2 separate regions of the Homo sapiens genome follow, and region 2 is linked to region 1. The links are contacts of gene promoters, found by promoter capture Hi-C in blood cells and fetal thymus (Javierre and others, 2016). All regions are on one chromosome and are shown on one strand. Each heading gives the region's core, a stretch centred on a gene start or on the middle of the fragment in contact. The rest is flanking DNA. Distances are from core to core; before and after follow the strand shown. Region 1 holds the start of COX16 (cytochrome c oxidase assembly factor COX16). Region 2 overlaps ERH (ERH mRNA splicing and mitosis factor).

Evidence for each region. The method cuts DNA at HindIII sites, captures the fragments that hold promoters and counts their contacts. A CHiCAGO score of 5 or more calls a contact.
Region 2: a fragment that was not itself captured here is called in contact with the fragment with the promoter of COX16 in region 1 in 2 of 17 cell types (naive CD4 T cells and non-activated CD4 T cells); the score reaches 6.9 in naive CD4 T cells.

What each region holds. Positions count from the first base shown.
Region 1 is chr14:70,358,119-70,361,634 of GRCh38, reverse strand. COX16 (cytochrome c oxidase assembly factor COX16) reads left to right here and starts at 1,952. Exons shown (of 4, transcript NM_016468.7): 1 at 1,952-2,116. The coding sequence starts at 2,048. The region is part of intron 3 of SYNJ2BP-COX16 (SYNJ2BP-COX16 readthrough); the gene reads left to right. It also overlaps the pseudogene RNU2-51P. RefSeq lists enhancers at 1,373-1,462, 1,923-2,232. The HindIII fragment of the contact is 4,146 bases long and covers 1-2,487 here.
Region 2 is chr14:69,393,334-69,396,755 of GRCh38, reverse strand. It overlaps ERH (ERH mRNA splicing and mitosis factor), which reads left to right. Exons shown (of 4, transcript NM_004450.3): 2 at 1,844-1,931. Among named protein-coding and RNA genes, the nearest start is that of ERH, 3.3 kb to the left of the region's middle. The HindIII fragment of the contact is 531 bases long and covers 1,118-1,648 here.

The DNA.
Region 1 (3,516 bases), core at 703-3,202:
CATTATTTTGAATATATGTATACGATTTAACCCATTATTAGCTACTACTTAGGTGCCGGGTTTTGATGGAGTAGTATCCAGTAGGCTGATGTTTTATGTAGTGAAGATGTAGGAAAACGCTAGAGTTTTAGAGCAGCGCCTTTGGCTTCTAGGATCTTAGGGAAAGTAGGAGATGTGATACGCTTAACTAACCTGGATGCCACGTGAGATTTATTTATTTATTTTTGAAACAGGGTCTAGCTGTGTCACCCAGGCTGCAGTGCAGTGGCATGATCACGGCTCACTGTAGCCTGGACCTCCTGGGCTCAAGTGATCTTCCCACCTCAGCTTCCCAAGTAGCTGAGACCCCACCATGCCTGGCTAATTTATTATTATTATTATTATTTGTAAAGATGGGGTCTTGCTTTGTTGCTCAGGCTGGTCTCGAACTCCTGGGCTCAAATGATCCTCCTGCCTCAGCCTCCCAAACTGCAGGTATTACAGGCATGAGCCACCATGCCTGGTCTGCATGAATTTTGAAATATCAAAAGGAAGTAAATAAGATGGGAGAGATGCACCGTTCCTGGGTTTCTGGAGGTATTGAAATACAGGTTGATGTGTAGAGTGGTGGAGCAAACTCCTATTCCATCTCCTTGCTTCAAAAACCCATTTAACATATTTTCCTTGGATAGAGAATGTGTCAAATATTAAACTGTTAAGAACAGATACTACACTTGATCTTAGCCAAAAGGATAAGTTTCACTGGAGTAGCCTGCAGTAGATCTGGAGCTTCTCTTCTGGAGACCACTTAAGAGGCTACTTTAATAGGTGAAAAGATGATAAGGAATTAAAAAAAGGAACATTTCAGTGGTAACAGAGAGGCAGGGACAGATGGAAATATTTCAGGAATAGCATGGAAGATAATATTCCGCATCACCTGCACTCTGATTCACTCTGGTAAATGGGACACGTGGGGGATCGGCTTCCTAAGCTATCCCAGTACTTCACACATGTTTGTTTCTGTGCCCATGAAATCGCCAGTGTCTTTAAGGTAAGGATCATATATTTTTATCTGTGTTCCTAGAACCCTTTCAAAGACACGCTGAAAGGTGGCCTGTATGGTTGCTGAATCATTGGTAAATAGACATTCATAAATGACTAAAGATTACAGGTTATCTCACAGTAAAATCATTAGCATTAAAAGTTCAGTAATGACTGATGAGACACTACACTGATTACATTTCAACCTAATCTTTCAAAAGCGATTTATTTTTAAAAGTCTCCATTAAACTGGCAAATTCCTCATCCCACAAATAGCCATAAAGACTGGAGTACCAGCTTCAAAATACTTTTTTTTCTTTTTTCTTTTTGAGACGAAGTCTCGCTCTTGTTCCCCAGGCTGGAGTGCGATGGCGCGATCTCTGCTCATTGCAACCTCCGCCTCCCGGGTTCAAGCGATTCTCCTGCCTCGGCCCCCCAGTAGCTGGGATTACAGGCGCCTGCCACCACGCCCGGCTAATTTTTGTATTTTTTTTTTTTAATAGAGACGGGGTTTTACCATGTTGACCAGGCTGATCTAGAACTCCTGACCTCAGGTGATCTACCGGCCTCGGCCTCCCAAAGTGCTGGGATTACAGGCCACCCACCCAGGCCACCGCGCCCGGCCTCAAAATACTTTTTTCCTTAGCTGATTTTATCGAGTGGCTATGTGCCTAAGGGAGTGTTCTAAGCAGACGTTAGTTAGGACCCAGAACGTGGGAAGTACTGGTTTCCAGATCAATTTGGTGGTGATCGTAAACCGATTCAAATCTCTAAATCCCAATTGCACGCCGACGTTACGGAACCAAAAACGCTGACGCCCACATTTCTGGGCGGACGCACAAGTATGTTACGATGGCTCGATTGCTTTTGCCTAGCGGAAACCATTCACTAAGGACCGAGCACCAAATAACCAAGGAAAAGGAAGTGAGTTAAGGACGTACTCGTCTTGGTGAGAGCGTGAGCTGCTGAGATTTGGGAGTCTGCGCTAGGCCCGCTTGGAGTTCTGAGCCGATGGAAGAGTTCACTCATGTTTGCACCCGCGGTGATGCGTGCTTTTCGCAAGAACAAGACTCTCGGCTATGGAGTCCCCATGTTGGTGAGTGGAGTGAGGAGGATCTTCCGCAAGGGGTGGGACCCTCCTCCTTGGCAGGATCAAGACCTGGGAGGGAATCTGTAAAATGTGAAGTTAAGGGCTGGCACTCGGGCTAGGAAGGAGCTAGCGACGGGGTGAGAGCTTTCCTAAAAGCTCTTCCACCAGTCTTTTCCACACCCCCACTTCCCCGCCGCTGTCCCCCACTCCCGGTTGGATTTCAGGTGTACTAGGATCTGTCTGCTTGTGAGCGTGGCGTCTTTCCCATCGTCGAACGCGGTCATTGTTACTACCCTTGATTCACAGTTAAGTAAATTGAAGCTCAGAGAATTCAGTCAGAACCACACTTTAAGCCAAGTTTGGATGATTACTAAGCTTGCTTCCTCGCCCCCAACTTAGCTATGTTTTGACGATACTGTGGATCATTGGGACTAGATGTATTCCATTTAACTGCACGAATTCCTGGTATCTTTCTGTTTCATCTTTCTAGTTTGTGAATTAGCTTAATACTTAGAGTTGTGATGAACTAATAACACCTTGTGAATAAAGTGTTGAGTACGGTGCCTGCCACATTGTAGCCAGAATGATTGCTGTGTTATAATTTCTAAAGCACGTTGAAAACAGCTTCCGTGTTTATATGGTTTCATCCATATCCACACTGAGTTCCCTAAGGATGTCATGAAATGCAGGCTGAGGCTGGCTTAAGACAACCAGAGTTGAAATCCAGATGACTCTTATTTGCTTTTTGATTACGGGCCAGTTATTTTGCTTCAGCAAGCCTTGATGTGTTAGTAAATGAAATAATTAAAGCATATGAACAAAAGCTGCTTTTAAATACAGACTATATTTTTATTTTGTATGAATGTTGGCGCAGATGAAATTACCAGCTTTTCCATTTAAGCAGACTAAAGGAAAGAAGTGATCTTAGAAAGGTAATGGATATTTTACACAGTTTTGAAAAATCCACATTCATCAAATGTGGATTTTAGGAATCTCCAAAAGATTCACCCATTTGAAGTATCTGGGCCAAGCACGATGGCTCACACCTGTAATCCCAGTGTTAGGGGAAGCCAAGACAGGAGGATCGCTTTAGGTCAGGAGTTCCAAACCAGCAAGACCTCTGTCTCTCCAAAAAAAAAAAAAAAAAAAAAAATTGTTGTTTTTAGCAAATTCGATATTAGTATACTAATATATTCGTATATTAGTATATTCTTAGTTATGGAGCCATCACCACAATTTTAGAACATTTTCATTGCCCCCAAAAAAGCATCATAACTAATAGTAGTCACTTCCCATTTCTTCCTGCCTCTTAATGCTGGCCTGGTAAACCACTAATCTACTTCTACCCGTAAATTTGCTTATTCTGCACATTTCATATTAACACACTAATACAACGTGGGTTTTTT
Region 2 (3,422 bases), core at 134-2,633, 960 kb after region 1:
CCAAGTTCCGTTTTTATGTCAAACCCTCTGAAACTTTTAGTCAAAGTGGTTTAGTTCTTGATGGGGAGAGAAGGGTATGATAACCCTTGGTTTTGCATGTCATGTTAAATGTACTATTTTTCCATTGTTTATTCAGAAAGTCTGGGCTTCAGCTATTTCTGTTCCAATTTGATGGTTAAAAATTCTGATCATTTTGTCCAGGCGCGGTGGCTCACGCCTGTAATCCCAGCACTTTGGGAGGCCGAGGCAGGCAGATCACCTGAGGTCGGGAGTTCAAGACCAGTCTGACCAACATGGAGAAACCCCATCTCTACTAAAAAGACAAAATTAGCCGAGCATGGTGGTGCATGCCTGTAATCCCAGCTACTTGGGAGGCTGAAGCAGAAGATTCGCTTGAACCCGGAAAGCAGAGGTTGCGGTGAGCTGAGATCGCGCCTTTGCGCTCCAGCCTGGGCAACAGGAACAAAACTGTCTCCAAAAAAAAATTATGTTATTCCAAAACAGTTTAGGGTTCCTGTTAGGAAATTTTTGTTTTCTGGTTTTTGGCTGAAAAATACTAGTACAGCAGAAGAGAAGGAAAAAGGTGAATAGTTTGATTTGGGACTGGATTTACAGTGGAGTTGCATCATACTTGCATTTAATTAACCTTACACATGTAGCAGAAAATTGGATGGGTCATATTTTCAACAGACCAGTGAATTCTCAGCTGGATGAGATTTTTTGCTCCCCAAGGGACATTTGTAACAAAGAATCAGTCAACCCAAAAGGTAATAGAGCCCACGTTGAGAAAACACTGAGATTGATTTGTTAGTGACTGATCACTAACAAAAACATGTTTCCCAGTGAGCACGAAGTGGAAGACAAGTCTGTCTGCTATGGGCATTATTTCACATTTCTCATAGTGTGATGACCTAACTTTCTGTGTGATTCTAATATGTGATTTTGGTATGAGAAAGCCCAGTAAGGCAAGTCATCTACTAGGTGAATAGTTTAATGGATTTTTAAGGGTAATTCTTATGATATGTTTATATTGCTAATTTATCTACTGCTTTAATGTTAAGTCTAACCCCTGGATAAAATGTGACTTTGCTCTTACGCTGAGGTTGGAAAAAAAGCTTAAGTTGAAACCATGCTTGTGATTATTATACTATTTCCCCTTTTGTTTCCTTTCATCAGCCCATCTGAGTTTTTATTAGTGACTTAAGAGCATTAAAGATGGAAAGTGACCACTGGAGACAGAAAACCTAAGCAGGTTTATAATTTAGTTGGGAAGAAAAGATAGAAAAGGAAAAGGAGGGCAAGGTAGCTTATACTGATTACTTGTAGGCAGTAAGTACGGTAGGACTGGGAGACTTAGGGAGACCGTACAGCAGAGTTGTGAATCCAGCTAGATACTATACTTAGACTAAGACATCAATATTTTTGTGGGAAAAGTATCCTAATGACTTTTTTTTTTCTTTTAAGAGATAGGGCCTCACTCTCCGATGCAATGGTGTGATCATGGCACACTGCAGTCTCAGCCTCCTGGGCTCAAGGAATCCTCCTGCCTTAGACTTCCAAAGTGCTGGGACTACAGGCATGCACCCGGCAAATTTTATTTTTTTGTAGAGACAGGGTCTTGCTATGTTGCCCAGGTTGGTCTCAAGCTTCTGGCCTCAAGTGATTTTCCCCCTCTCAGCCTCCCAGAGGATGAGGATTATAGGCATGGGATGCCATGCCTGGCCTCTCTAATTACATTTTAATAACTAGCAATCATTATTGCATTACAAATGGGGATTTTTTTTTATCATACTATGAATTTCTCAAATAGAAACTTATATTGAAATCATGTTTTCCCCTGCAGTCTCACACCATTTTGCTGGTACAGCCTACCAAGAGGCCAGAAGGCAGAACTTATGCTGACTACGAATCTGTGAATGAATGCATGGAAGGTGAGTTTAACACTAATCAAGGGGTAGAAAAATGTCTCATTTAGGAACTGGGTTTTTCCCCTCCAAATTTTTTTTTTTTAATAGTCCATCCACCCCAGGCCCTGCCTTTATCACTTCCAACCCTCCAAATTTATTGAATTGCTAATTTTAGGAGGGAAAGCAGATATTTAGGATGGACCATAATTATTGAACATTTTATTTATTTGTTTGTTTATTTATGTATTATTTGAGACAGAGTCTCGCTCTATCACCCAGACTGGAGTGCAGTAATGCGATCTCGGCTTACGCAACCTCCGCCCCCCAGGTTCAAGTGATTCTCTTGTGCCTCAGCCTCCCAAGTAGCTGGGACTACAGGCATGGGCCACCACACCCAGATAATTTTTTGTGTATTTAGTAGAGATGGGGTTTCACCATGTTGGCCAGGCTGGTCTCGAGCTCCTGACCTCAAGTAATCCGCCTTGGCCGGTTGAACATTTTAAACATTAATTATGTATATAGTATCCTCCTTGCTACAAGTATTAGGTGTTTTTTTTTTTTAAACTAATGTATATAATGAGTGACTTTCCAGAGCTGCTTGTTGTTTTATAAATATTCTCTTCTTATTTGTCACATGTTATTTTGTTACAGTATGGAAATATTTTACAGGTATCCCTTATATATTCTGGTTAAGCTCAAACACTATAGGCTTGTGTGTCTGTCTGTTTTTAATAGGTTGTTTTAATAGATTTAAGGGATACAAGTGTAGTCTTCTTATATAGATATATGGCATAGTAGTAAAGTCTGGGCCTTTTTTTTTTTTTCCTTAAGACACGGGGTCTTGCTCTGTCACCCAGGCTGGGGTACAGTGGTGATAATGGCTTATTGCAGTCTCAGTTTCCTGGGCTCAAGCAGTCCTCCTGCCTCAGCCTCCCAAATAGCTGGGACTAGAGGCACCTGCCGCCACACCTGGCTAATTTTTTGGTTTTTTTATAGAGATGGGGTCACTGTGTTGCACATGTTGGTCTCAGACTTCTAGCCTCAGGCAGTTCTCCTGCCTTAGCCTCCCAAAGTTCTGGGATTACAAGCATGAGCCACCGCGCCAACCAAGTCTGGGCTTTTATTGTAGCCATCACCTGGTGTACATTGTACGCAGTAGTGATTTTTCATCCCTCACCATTCTCCCACCTTTTGTAGTCTCCAGTGTCAGTTATTCCACTCTGTCTGTCCATGTGCACACATCATTTAGCCTCCACTAATAAATGAGAACATTAAATGTTTGACTTTCTGAGTTACTTCACTTGAGATAATGACCTCCAATTCCATCCATGTTGCTGCAAAGACATGGTTTTATTCTTTTTTTAATAGCTGAGTAGTATTCCATGGGATGTGTGTGCATGCATTCTCATACACCACATTTCCTTTGTCTAGTCATCCATTGATGGATACGTAGTTGATTCCATGACTTTGCTGTTGTGTATAGTACTGCCGTAAACGTATGAGTGCAGGTGTCTT